4 separate regions of the Homo sapiens genome follow, and all the other regions are linked to region 3. Evidence: promoter capture Hi-C in 16 types of primary human blood cells and fetal thymus (Javierre and others, 2016). All regions are on one chromosome and are shown on one strand. Each heading gives the region's core, a stretch centred on a gene start or on the middle of the fragment in contact. The rest is flanking DNA. Distances are from core to core; before and after follow the strand shown. Region 1 overlaps PHACTR1 (phosphatase and actin regulator 1). Region 2 overlaps PHACTR1 (phosphatase and actin regulator 1). Region 3 holds the start of GFOD1-AS1 (GFOD1 antisense RNA 1). Region 4 overlaps MCUR1 (mitochondrial calcium uniporter regulator 1).

Evidence for each region. Contacts are between HindIII fragments. The CHiCAGO score rates a contact against its expected background, and 5 or more counts as called.
Region 1: a fragment that was not itself captured here is called in contact with the fragment with the promoter of GFOD1-AS1 in region 3 in 2 of 17 cell types (neutrophils and total B cells); the score reaches 8.3 in neutrophils.
Region 2: a contact is called between a fragment that was not itself captured here and the fragment with the promoter of GFOD1-AS1 in region 3, in 1 of 17 cell types (monocytes). The highest score is 5.1, in monocytes.
Region 4: a contact is called between a fragment that was not itself captured here and the fragment with the promoter of GFOD1-AS1 in region 3, in 1 of 17 cell types (naive CD4 T cells). The highest score is 5.4, in naive CD4 T cells.

The regions. Positions count from the first base shown.
Region 1 is chr6:13,188,536-13,191,938 of GRCh38, reverse strand. All of the region lies in intron 7 of PHACTR1 (phosphatase and actin regulator 1), which reads right to left. Among named protein-coding and RNA genes, the nearest start is that of TBC1D7, 140 kb to the left of the region's middle. The HindIII fragment of the contact is 5,237 bases long and covers 1-3,403 here.
Region 2 is chr6:13,169,386-13,172,795 of GRCh38, reverse strand. The region is part of intron 6 of PHACTR1 (phosphatase and actin regulator 1); the gene reads right to left. Among named protein-coding and RNA genes, the nearest start is that of TBC1D7, 160 kb to the left of the region's middle. The HindIII fragment of the contact is 5,861 bases long and covers 1-3,410 here.
Region 3 is chr6:13,484,570-13,487,684 of GRCh38, reverse strand. GFOD1-AS1 (GFOD1 antisense RNA 1) reads right to left here and starts at 1,424. Exons shown (of 2, transcript NR_046709.1): 1 at 1,232-1,424; 2 at 914-1,004. It overlaps GFOD1 (Gfo/Idh/MocA-like oxidoreductase domain containing 1), which reads left to right and starts at 85. Exons shown (of 2, transcript NM_018988.4): 1 at 85-1,047. The coding sequence starts at 795. RefSeq lists silencers at 1-93, 114-593, 734-897 and an enhancer at 724-833. The HindIII fragment of the contact is 1,067 bases long and covers 1,147-2,213 here.
Region 4 is chr6:13,794,751-13,798,106 of GRCh38, reverse strand. The region is part of intron 6 of MCUR1 (mitochondrial calcium uniporter regulator 1); the gene reads left to right. Among named protein-coding and RNA genes, the nearest start is that of MCUR1, 18 kb to the left of the region's middle. The HindIII fragment of the contact is 891 bases long and covers 1,032-1,922 here.

The DNA.
Region 1 (3,403 bases), core at 598-3,097, 300 kb after region 3:
GATAGTCCTTGTATGCACTGCAGAAAAAAAACTTCTGCATTTTGAGAATAGAAACAAGACTGGAAAAACATGGAGAAATGGGTAGAAAAGTGAGTATAAAAAGTAAAATCAGCTAACTCCCCCATTCGTTCTGTGTTGTTTCCATTTTTTATTTTTTGTATGAGTTTTGACATCTTAAAAACCTTTCTGGCTGGGGAGACTGTCCCTCCTGGGGCTGACCAATTCTCAGAGTTAGCAAGGGCCAAGTCAGGAGCAGCCCTTTGATATGGAAACAAGCCAGTCCAGAGCCAGACTTCCTCTATCAGGCCTGTCCACCCCAGGATGCATTATTCCTCTGCCTTAATCATCCCATGGCCAGGTACCAGGCAACTATAGAACATTTGTATAGCTTAGAGCCTGCTGACACCATGCAAACTAGCCAGTCCTAAAGTGCTCTGTCTGCCCTGCTTTGCCTTTCTGCAGAAACCCCAATAAACACTCTGGCCTCGGCTTTCCCCTCTCCTTGCTTTCTGCCTCCTGACCACCCTGAGGCTTCCCCATGTGCCCTGTGTGGTGAGCCGTGCCTCCTGTCTCTAGGGCCCGTGAGTATAATAAACCTTATGGCTGCACTTGACCGACCATCTCACAAAGAACACAGAACACCTTCAAATTATCAGTTACCAAGAGAGACTTCTATGCAAACATTCATTTTTTTTCCATTTAAAGGCATAGATAAAGTCCAAGCTCACAGTGGTCTAATCTTTGGTTTTATTGCACTGGGATTACTGGGAGGGAAGGCAGGGACAGAGGCAGAAGTAGCCAGGTGGTTCTGGAGGGTTGGAGAGGAGGACATGGAGGGTTGGGAATGTGGGGATCAATGGGGGAGAGAGAGCATCAGAGAAAAACAGAGACACATAATGAAATTACGCAGCAGCATGTGACTGTAGAACAGTGAAAAAGTCCACAAAACTAGAGAGATAGCTATAACCAGGAATATTGGTCAAGCATGGAGAGAGGATTCTTGTTACACAGGTACACATGCTGGGGCTGAAAATAACACAGGTCATGGACACCATTTGTCAGGCAAAGTTGTAGTAGCGAATACTTTGGTAACATTGAAATGAGCAATCAACTAAGTTCTGAGAATATATTAAGTTTCCTTGTATTTTGAATTCTAACCACTGTGCAAATAAGTCCTGGGTAGGTGTGTATTATCAGTAGGACTTGTTTTCAAGGATAAGCCTCAGTTTCCTTTCTTTGCTGAAGTGTCAGTAATCTCTAACTGTGGTCAGATGCTTCCCATGTGGTTTACCCCTGCTCCTGACTCTTACACAAACTGTCTCCTTTGGGTCTGTTCTTTGAAACCCGACCCAACTGAACTCAGATCCTCCTCTTTATAACCAAGTGCCTTGAGTATATGACTAATTTTTGAAGAACTAGATAATTTTTGTCCTTGAGTCATGCTGTGGACTGAATTGTGTCCCCCCACCTCCTAAATTCATCTGTTGAAACTCTCACCCCCAATGTGACTGTATTTGGAGTAAGGAAGTAATCAAGGTCAAATGAGGCAATGAAGATGGAACCCTAATATGATAAGATTAATGTCCTTATAAGAAGAGACATCAAGCCGGGCTTGGTGGCTCACGCCTGTAATCCCAGCATTTTGGGAGGCTGAGGCGGGCAGATCACTTCAGGCCAGGAGTTCGAGACCAGCCTGGCCAATATGGTGAAACCCCACCTCTACTAAAAAAAAAAAAAAAATACAAAAATTAGCTGAGCATAGTGGCACAAGCCTGTAATTCCAGCTACTCGGGAGGCTGAGGCAGGAGAATCACTTGAACCCAGGAGGTGGAGGTTGCAGGGAGCCAAGATCATGCCACTGCACTCTAGCCTGGGCGACGGAGTAGAAACTGTTTTAAAAAAAAAAAAAAAAAAAGCAGAAGAGATATCAGAGATCTCTTTCTCTCTCCCTGTTATGTGAGAACATAGAGAGAAGGGAGCTGTCTACAAGCCAGCAAAAGATATGTCACTAGAAACCGAACCCTACGGACCTTGATCTTGGACTTTCCAGCCTCCAGAACTAAGAGAAATACATTTCTGTTGTGTAAACTACCCAATCTACATTCTTTAGTTGCGGCAGCCCAAGCAGAATAACACAACTTTTAAAAACAAAGGGGCCGATTTTCAAACTTCTTAAGCAGATGAAAACATACAATGCTAAAACACAAAGAAAGCTGATTTTTTTAAAGATTTGGGAATAGGCCGGGCAAGGTGGCTCATTCCTGTAATCCCAGCACTTTGGGAGGCAGAGATGGGTGGATCACTTGAGCTCAGGAGGTCCAGACCAGCCTGGGCAACTTTGTGAAATTCCTTCTCTACAAAAAAATACAAAAGTTAGCCAGGCGTGGTGGCATGTGCCTGTAGTTCCAGCTACTCAGGAGGCTGAGATAGGAGGATCACTTGTGCCTGGGAGGTGGAGGCTGCAGTGAGCCGTGATTGTGCTACTGCACTCTAGCCTGGAAGATACAGTGAGATCCTGTCTCAAAAAAAGAAAAAAAAAAGGGGGGGTGGGAATTTTGGTGGAGATACTATAAACAAATGGTTATAAATGAGGATTCTGGAGTCAAAAAAAATAGGTTCATGCTTATCTGCCACTTACTAGCTAAGTAACTACGACCAAGTCCTTTAATTTCTCCAAATTTCATGCTCATCTGTGAAAAGAGGTAATAATGATAACAATATCAAAGAGTATGTGGTAAAGTTCTCAAAAAAGGCTGACATTATTATTACCCAAATGTGAACATCTGACTGTGAAGTCCAGCTAAATTGATTTATCCTTCATTCAACTGGCATGCCGGGGGCACCTGCCACAGGTACCTTATGCAGAAGGCATAGGTTATTCATGCAGCGTTGAACATCTGACTTCTGGAGCCAGAATGCCACAGAGAAGTGACTGATGATGACTTAGAGAGGCAGGAGACAGTGGCTTTTGCCTTCATCACCCTTTTGGGGTCACCCATCACTCCAAGGATTCCAAGAAGGATGCATTTCACTTCAGATCACATTCATTACACAACAAGCTCTGTCGGACACTGTACTTCTGGAAACAAAGGAAACTGATGCCAACAACTCCTGGCCCTGTATCGCATGCTGTTGCATGGTTGATGTTGGAGGAGGTGAGATGGAAGGAGATTTTAACAAGAAATGAAGCAAGACAGACAGGGAGAATGAGAGAACTTCTCCCCACCTGGCTGATGAACAGAAGAAATTTGTAAGACAAATACTCTCCAAATTAATTACATTTTCCTGATAAAGTGGAAGCAAACGCCACGGTAGAGGTATTTCTGCATGACTTTCCCTGACTGTGAATTTGGTAGTAGTTCCAGTTCAGCCTCACATTTCCTCCAGCATTCTACCAGACCAT
Region 2 (3,410 bases), core at 804-3,303, 320 kb after region 3:
AATGAAATGGTACCTGTTTTTGTACTCAAAGAATCATCTTGCTTTTTGTTATTGTGGTTATTGTTCTGAGTTTATTATCCTATTTTGATTTTAATAGGCTTCTCCTTCTTGCTGAGAAGCCTTTGCCTAAAACATTAAATAGGTGAGATGCAATGACTTTCCATCACAAGAGTGGCAAAGACATTGACCCTGGGTAGCTTGTTTCAGCTGCACTTCCCTGGAGCTGTTTCCTGCTGGATTTATTAGTATTTGCTGCCTCTGACTGCACCTCATGGTCAATAAACCATGGCTCATGTGGAGTCTGGGCTGCTTCCCCTGCCTTCAGCCTCCTGGTAACCTGAGCGCCTCATTACATGGAATTGTGTGGTGCCTGTCTCCCGGGTATGGTTATACCTCCCCAGCAGTCTGCACGCCAAGTGCATGGTTTCTCAGATGATGTATCCTCATGAACTATCAGGGCTCTGACCACTATTTCCAAACAATGACTCTGGCTCCAAGGTTTGTAGCTGAAAGAGGAGTTACCATCTTGCTATTTCTGGGCATTTTGATATAAAAAATGCAACTGGGGCAGAGATTGAATATAAATGAACAGAATGTCACAGTTTCTCTCCTATGGAATCTGATAGTCTGAATCTCACAGAATCAGTCATTGTGAAAGGGGCCTCTTTCATCATTAATAGGGTAGCCCAACTGAGCCTAGCATCCAAGATTTTAGAAAAGGCTAGAGTTGACCGGGCGTGGTGGCTCACACCTGTAATCCTAGCATTTTGGGAGGCCAAGGTGAGCGGATCACCTGAGGTCAGGAGTTCAAGACCAGCCTGGCCAACACGGTGAAAACCCGTCTCTACAAAAAATACAAAAAATTAGCCGGGCATGGTGGCGCATGCCTGTAATCCCAGCTACTTGGGAGCTGAGGCAGGAGAATCACTTGAACCCCGGAGGCAGAGGTTGCAGTGAGCCGAGATTGCGCCATTGCATTACAGCCTGGGCAACAAGAGTGAAACTCCATCTAAAAAAAAAAATTGGCTAGAGCTGGGGGAGGGAAGTTATAGGGGATGGCCATTTCAAAATTTGCACAGCTCTGTTTCTCTAGCTGGGCTCTCAAATAGGGCATTCATTAGACACATGTAGTGGTGTTCAAGTTCGTTAAAATTGAACAAAATTCACAAAGCAGTTCCTCAATCAGAGTAACCACATTTTAAGTGCTCCACCACCACACGTAGCTAGAGGATACTGCATTGGCCGATGCAGATGACAGAATATTTCTGTTACTGTTGAAAGTTCTACTGGACAGCACCGCTCAAGGTAGACTTGAAAATCACAACCATGGGCCTTACATGTATGCAAAAGTCAATCCATTTCTGGAACAGAGAGGTTAAAATGATGCTGCTACACTGATCTCCACCATAATGAGTGTCTGGCTCAGTGTACTGTAGTCCTATTAGAGAAACTGCAGTTGTGGGAAACCTGGAGTGCTGGGATGGGGGATGAGCTCCAGGGCACACATGGACAGTGGGAGCCCTGAGAGCAGTGAGACAGAACTACAGAGGCACACATGGCCCTTGGAGGAGTCCTGAGCCTTCAGTGGATCTCGGCTCTACTTGGGCGGAAGTGGGGTGGGGTGGGGTGGGGACTGTGAAGAGGACTTGAGAAAAGCATGAAAGGAGAGCAGAAGAGCAGGGAGAACAGGTGGCTGGTGGAGACCATAGCTAACCTTGATCGAGTACCTGCTCTAAGCAGGTGATGACCTAACTTCCCACATTGGATTACGTCCTTTAAGCCCAAACGGGATTATGTCCTTTATGAGATGACAGGCAAGGGCCAGAATGGAGTTGAAGAGTTCATCATTCCATGGGAGGATGGAATGATTCCCAGAGACTCTAGGAGGATCACCCGGTTGGTAACAGACTGCCTTCAATCAAGCAGGCTTGGGCCTGGGAACAGTGAGAAGGGATCAAATGAAAGCATGGCCTTGCTGGCGGCAGCAGTCTAGGGTCCTGGGGTTATATTCAATCAGAAACCAGAGTCTAGAGAGATGAAAAGATGCCCTGTATCTTCCACAGACAGAACACGATGGAGCCAGAACTGGAAACCCTGGCTCAGGACTCCTGCAAGAGTACTGTTCTTTTAGACATTATGAATTGGGTGGCGTGCCCCATTGACTTGTCTAACTTTACACAAGTCTTGGGCAAAAGTATGAAATCTGGAACATTTTTCTAAGCTATTTCCAGCTTTTCCTTCATCAGCTACTAGACTCCCAAAGTTTGGCTGGCTTTCCAGTTATAAAGGTCAATGCATGTCAGTGGCTGGGGAGTAATAGAGCATTGGAAGGCCGGGGACATGTGGATGAGGCATTGATGCCCACTATGCCCCACGTACCCTGCCCTGCCATGAGTTCACAGGAGGGGTCCAGGTAAGCAGTTAGAAAGGGTGGTTTCATGGTGGATATTCCAATATGAATTTACATCATGCAGCAGCACTCAGGCAGGTGACTGTACTTGCAATACTTAAATTTATGGAAACATTTGTCAAAATTAGAGGAAAATATCTGATGGTTATCTGCGCAAATTTTCATCTATGAGACATGAGGGTAATCCTGAAAAACCTTTGGTGCAAAATTTTCTTGCTGTCATCAAGATACCAAGAAGATATAGCCTTCGTTTGTTCCCTGTACACTGTGGTATACGCATGTGATGTAGGAATTGCTGCAGCCATCTTGTCACCATGAGGAGTTACAGCCAGAGGATGGCATCCATTAGCCATGGTACACAGCTGATGAATGAACCAGCCCTGGAGCTGCCCTACAATTGGACTTTATTATGTGAGTTTCATTCTTTCACGCAATAAATATGAAATGAGCACCAACAAACTCTAAGATTGTTTGAGGCATTTGGGATACCTTAGAGGACAAACATACAAAAATTATTAGCCTGCAGACTTTCTAAATTTGCTTATTGTTTCAGTCTCTTTAACCTTTTTATTACCTGCATCTAGAGCATCTTAACTTACACCCTGCTGCCTGCATACTGGCTTCACAGGTAACTGAAGAATCTATATAATAGCATAAATGTAATCAAAAGGGCACTTTTATTCCTGATCTTTTTCTCATTCCTTGTCTTATTTGATGTGTCTGCATTTGACAGTGTGGGCCACTTTGTCCCCAGCTGAGCAACAGTCTCTTGTGTTGGCTTCCATAATGCTACACATTTTTGGTTGACCTCCTATTTTTTGACCACTTCTTAGTTTTTGAGGGTCCTTCTTACTCCTAGGTCATTTTTTTACTCCCCAAACATTAAATGTTGGGGTTCCATGGAGTTTTCTATCAGGGCCACCTTATTTTCCTACTCTACATTCTCTCTGAGAAATACCATCAATTTACATGACTACAGGATGTATACACTGACCAGTCC
Region 3 (3,115 bases), core at 175-2,674:
GCGGCGCTGCAGCGAGGGCGGTGCAGGAACACCGGCCGCTGACAGCCAAACTCGCCAACTCCGCCCTCGTCCCCGCGGGATCCCAGAGCCTGAGCCGGCCTGGGGCCGAGGCCGCCCGAGCCGCGAGGCGAGCGAACATGGCAGCAGAATGAGGAGGCTGGCGCCGGGTCGTGGCCGCCGCTGCCGCGCTGCAGCTCGGGATCCCAGTCCGGCGCGCTCCGGGCCGCATCCTTAGCCGGCCTCCTGGCGGCCGCGGGATTATTTCATTCCCAACGGAGAGCTAGGAAGAAAGGAGACTCCCCCGCGGAGCGGTTCCGTGCTCTGGCAGGGTGTAGACGTTTGTCTGTGCGATTCGCCGGCTGCGCAAACGACGCGGGAGAGAGCCGGTCCCGGGCTGCGGCGGCGCGGCCGCGGGGATGAGCCGGCCATGGAGCGGCCTTGGCGGGGCGCACGCAGCGGACTGGCGCTGCCGCGGGAGCGCAGCCTGAGCCGGGGCTCCAGGGGGCTTCGAAGCCTCCGGCGCCCTGGGGGGGTCCCTGCCGCCGACTCCGGGAAGGACGCGAGCCCCGCGTGGCGGACACTGCCGCAGTCACCGTTCTGAGGCGCCCCGAGCTTGCTCCGCCTGCAGCTCGGTGCGCTCTGGGCACCCGGGCGCCTTGCCCGGTGCACGGCGGCTGGCGCACCGCGGCTAGATTGGCTACAGGAGCGGGGTGCAGGACTGGCTAGAGGTGGGTGTGTGCGCGCGTTGGACTGGAGATCCGAGCAGAAGCAGAACCAGGCGGCTCTGAGCAGCCATGCTTCCCGGGGTGGGCGTGTTCGGCACCAGCCTCACGGCCCGTGTCATCATCCCGCTGCTGAAAGACGAGGGCTTCGCGGTGAAGGCGCTGTGGGGCCGCACGCAGGAAGAAGCGGAGGAGCTGGCCAAGGAGATGAGTGTCCCCTTCTACACTAGCCGCATTGATGAGGTGCTGCTGCATCAGGACGTGGACTTGGTGTGCATTAACCTGCCGCCGCCCCTCACCAGACAGATCGCTGTCAAAACCCTAGGTGAGCGACCCCTACCCCGCATCCTCCGTCCCACCCCCGCCCTTTAACCTTCTCTAGGTTCCTTCCCCCCTGCCTTTCCCTCTCCGCATCCCAGAAGCTTACCCTGCATCTACGCTGCCCCGGGGATCTGAGATCCCAGATCCGACTCAGAGCTCCCTCCTTCCTCGTCCCCGGCCTTCCCCACCTTTGCGCTTCCCTCCTGCCTCCTGGCACCACTTGGACGCGCTTCCCCACGTGTGTAGATTGCAGGCTGGAGAAGGCGTGTGTTCCGGGGATCCGAACTAGGAAGATCAGATGCCGATAATAGGGGATAGGGTGCTCCGCGAGAAGAGGAAAGTTACTCCTCAGCTGTGTGTGTAGTGTCCAAGTGTGTGTGTGTGGGGGGGGGGGATGGGGGGGTGGAGGAGGGTTGTGCGCGCGCGCGCCTGGGAGAGGCGAGTGCGCGCCCAGAAACGCCTGAATAAAAGGCCGCACACGTGTGTCGGGTTTTCTTGGGTGCGATAGAGGACCTGCCCTTCAGCAGCGGTGGCGCCCTGCTAGGGTCGTTTGTTTCTTTCTGCTGTGAGTTAGTTTAGCGTGAGATTGCAGATGTTACCATCGGCTGGAATTATTTCGTCTGCGCTGGAGGCAAGGACGGTGGGAGTGGTTGGATGGGGGTGATGATGTATTAGAATGTTTTCAGAGGCGTCATAGGTTAGTAAAGACTGATTTGGTAAAACCAGGGGGTTTTAACTTTTGACTGCAGCCTCCCGGGAAATGTCTTCTGCCCCAATTTGGAGTAATAGATTTTAAATTTTTAGGAGGATGGGCGCAGTAGCTCCAGAGGCATGGATGCTTTGCATGAGAAAAGGCCCTCCCTAATCGCCTTCAGGAATAGTTTCGGAAGGCACAGTGTTGACCCGTGGGCTGGAGATGAGTTCAGGGTGCCTCACCATCTGGTCCCTGCTCCCCTCAACTCCCAGGCAGTCTGAACAATCTCTGAGGACAGAGTAGCAGCCTCTCAGCCTATGCTCAGGGGAAAGAGAAGGGCATGTTTTGTTCATCATCAGTTCTTGCACGTAACCTAAAACAATCCCAGGAAGGTTGCTTGATCTTACAATTCCAAGAAAATGAGCAGCTCACCTTTGAAAGCTGAAGTTTCTATTGGTGAGGAAAAACACAAAGCTTATAACAAGAACAAAGCTTATAACCAGATGAAGCGAATAGTAGAACAGATTAGAAGGGAGGAGCTGCGAAGGAACAGAGACAACATCCAGAAACCAGCCGGAAGTTATGTAGTCTTGGAAAGACTGTTTTATTTGTTAAAAATAGGTATGGATTCAGGGTAGGTGAAATATACGTGTGTTTTAATTCTGTCTTCGAAGAGCTATGAACAGAATGTAAAACTCTTTCTCCATAGAAAGGCATTTTCATCAGGCCATTTGGCTATTGACTCAGATGCAACATCTGATAGAATTCCTAAGGAGGCTGCCCACATTGTCAGTTTTAATTGTCAGTTAATTTTATTAAGTGTCTGCCCTTTGTGGCCTGTTTCTTTGGCCTTGAACTGAATGCCATTGAACTGAATGCTAATATTTATTTTCTGTTTAATGGAACATGTATGTTGGGTGGATAACTCCCTTGTTTACATTGGCTCTTTGCATATCAAATATCTTATAACGATCTTATGGTATAATTCTATTAGTGCAATTTGTACAAAACTGGTCCCTGATGAGCCCTGCGTATACTGGAGAGCTTAGGACTGGTCATATCTGAAAGACCATGTTGTTAACATCGTTTCTCCACCATAAAGATGGCAGTTCCTGTCCTGGGTTCAGACCCACAGAGCAAACCTAGAGCAGGAGGGTGGCAATTTGGGGAACAAGGATGACCTTGTTTTCTGGCTGTCTCTGGGACCATGGCCATGAAAGTGTCTGGGGGCTCTGGTTTCAAGAGATGTGACACAAATTAGACATTTCTGGATACTTCTTCTGTTCTTATTTTTCAAATATCCCTGTGACTTTAATTAACAAGACATGTCTGTTACCTCTTCAAAACCAGCGATAAGAGGCATAATAGACCTAGTTTA
Region 4 (3,356 bases), core at 228-2,727, 310 kb before region 3:
AAAAAGAAAATTTCTATGTTGTCTTTTAAGTGCAGTGAGAAGTTGTGAGGGTATTTTGTTTTGTTTTCTATTTTTGTTTTTTTTGAGACAGAGTCTCAGTGTGTTGCCGAGGCCGGAGTGCAGTGGCACCGTGTCTGCCCACTGCAACCTCCGTCTCCTGGGTTTAAGCAATTCTCCTGCCTCAGCCTCCCGAGTAGCTGGGATTACAGACGCCACCACCACACCTGGCTAGTTTTTATATTTTTAGTAGAGACAGGGTTTCACCATGTTGGCCAGGCTGGTCTCAAACTCCTAACCTCAAGTGATCTGCCCACCTTGTCCTCCTAAAGTGCTGGGATCACTGGAGTGAGCCACTGCGCCTGGCCGGCAAGTGTGTTTTTTTTTTCTTTGTTTTTGTTTGAGGCGGAGTCTCGCTCTGTCACCCAGGCTGGAGTGCAGTGGTGTGATCTCAGCTCACTGCAAGCTTCGCCTCCCGGGTTCACGTCATTCTCCTGCCTCAGCCTCCAGAGTAGCTGGGACTACAGGCCCCTGCCACCACGCCCAGCTAATTTTTTGTATTTTTAGTAGAGACGGGGTTTCACCGTGTTAGCCAGGATGGTGTCGATCTCCTGACCTCGTGATCCGCCCACCTCGGCCTTCCAAAGTGCTGGGATTACTGGAGTGAGCCACCGCGCCCGGCCTAAGTGTGTTTTAATAAAGATATGTGTCGGGTTGCCTCTAGTGATTTTTAACCCTGTCTGAATATTCAGCCGTCTTCTTGCTCAGACTTTATTTGAATTTGGTAACATCAGGTGCCTTTTTTATTCTTAGCATAATGAGAAATAGGGCAGAGAGAGCATCTTGCACTAACACAAAACTGAATACACATGCAGAAACTGAGTACTCACAACTGTTTGTTGTTTTCTCATTTTTGACAATTTGCTTTTAGATAAAATGTGCTATAATGATAAGTGAAGCTAATACTGAAACTCAAAAAAGTAACCTACTTGTGTTTTGGAACTGCCACTGGATTTCAAGAGTTAATCCAAGCTTCGTTATACAAAATAATTATTAAGGCTGTGTTACCTGTCTTTCTAGTCTTACAACAACAGTCTCCACCCATAAAGATTAAATCACCTAGTGTTACTAAATAGTTACTGACTATAGCATGTCACTGGTGTCTGGAAGAGGAGAAACTCTTTTGGTTACCTTTATCTTTATGGGTTGTATACTCAGGAAGAACTGAATTCACTTGATATAGGAAAATGACTGTGTGTAGCTAACCAACCTGGGAAAAACTACATCAAGGACATCAGGAAATACAGGGCATGAATGTAGATTAAAGCCAGTGAATTTTTTTAAAATTTTATATGGAGTCATTTTAATAACATAACTAGGCTGATATATATGTACATTTTTCAATCATGTAACATTTAGATTTTACTCATTTTAAGTCATTAACATCATCCAGCAAACAAAAATTTTCCAGAAATTTTTTTCACAATTACAGTTTTAGTCTTTAAACCAAAATGAAAAAATTTCTGCCGGGCATGGTGGCTCACACCTGTAATCCCAGCACTTTGGGAGGTCAAGGTGGGTGGATCACCTGAGGTCAGGAGTTCGAGGCCAGCCTGGCCAACGTGGTGAAACCCTGTCTCTACCAAAAATACAAAAATTAGCCCAGCGTGATGGCCCACCTGTAGTCTCAGCTACTCGGGAGACTGAGGCAGAAGAATCATTTGAACCCAGGAGGCAGAGATTGCAGTGAGCCGAGATCACGCCACTGCACTCCAGCCTGGGTGACAGAGTGAGACCCTGTCTCAAAAAAAAAAAAAAGAAAAGAAAAAAAATGATGAAATTTCATTCTTGCAAATACTCATATTTTTAAATTATTGGATATATAGAGTGGATTCATTCAGTGTTCTTATAAGAAAAGTAAAGCTTATAATATTTTGCAGACTTGATAATGCAGCACTCAAAATACTTACCCTGATTTTATTTTACTTGAATTTACTAGTTAAATATGCTGATAAATATGATTTACATGTAATTACTTTATCTGGAATGACTATATTGACCTTAATCTCCAGAAAGCAACCAATGCACAGAGTTTCAATTAAATCCTGTCCATCATGATAGTAACTTTTTCTACATGACACAAAAGTGTCTGTGGTATATTTGAACAGTAACTGTGACTATGAATTGTTCTTATAGTCTTTTTTTAGTGTTTCATTATTTTAATTTCAGTGGGTTTTGGGGGAACAGGTGGTGTTTGGTTACATGAAGACGTTATTTAGAGGTGATTTCTGAGATTTTTGGTGCCCCCATCACCCTAGCAGCGTACACTGTACCCAATGTGTAGTCTTGCCCCTCACCCACCTCCTACCCTTTCCCCCAAGTCCTCAAAGTCCACTGTATCATCCTTTTGCCTTTGCATCATAGCTTAGCTCCCATCAAGCCAGTGAATTTATGTCATTTAGTAACCTAGCGGGGAGGTTGTTCTTGGTAATCATAAACTTGGATTACTCTGAAGCACAAGGCAGTAGTAAATTATACAGCGAGTGTGTTTGTAACATGCATTGGTGAAGATGAGTTTTCTGGCTCTCGTTCTTTCGGTAAAGTTATAATGTTAAATATTAAATTGCAAATTAACTATGATATTTACAGCCAGTTCCAAAAGCAGTATGGCATATAAACTTCTGGGGCATGGGGATATAGAGCTACATAGATGTTATTTTTAAAACCATGACAGCGTCAATATTTAGGCTCTTCTTTTGTGGGTGAGTCAATGTTGAGTTAATGAAGACTGAGGTTTAGTGGTGCACAAAATCTTGTTCCACGCCGCCCTCTAGTGGTGATCTGATGCATCGGGCTCTCCTGGTCTGAAACCCTGAGGTTTAAAGAGCATTGTTCTTGGTTTTACAACCTACTCCTTGGCTTAGGGTTTTGGGGTTTTTTGTTTTTGTTTTTGTTTCTCTTTCTCTTTTTTTTCTTTTTTTTTTTTCTACTTCTAAGCTCCCAGTAGTCCCAGGAGAATATTTTATAGCTAGGAAGTTTCTATATACTTCAAAGGATTAACTTTTTCTTTCTATAACAAGGTTAATGTAGTTCTTAAAAGTCGTCATTCAAATTACTGATTGTCATATGCTCAATTAAATCTTGTTGCCCACTACTAAGGAGATAAGTCTGATTTCAATCTTACTGTCTACAAAACTGCACTAAATCTTTTCACTGACATTAATAGCCAAAAGGCGAGATACTTTAACTCTGGGTAGAATTAGTTCCTTTAGTAACGCTGGATTATGGCTACGCCCAAGTGGGTTTTTTTATTGTTATTAAAACCAACATGTGCAGGAGGCTAAGGCAGGAGAATTGCT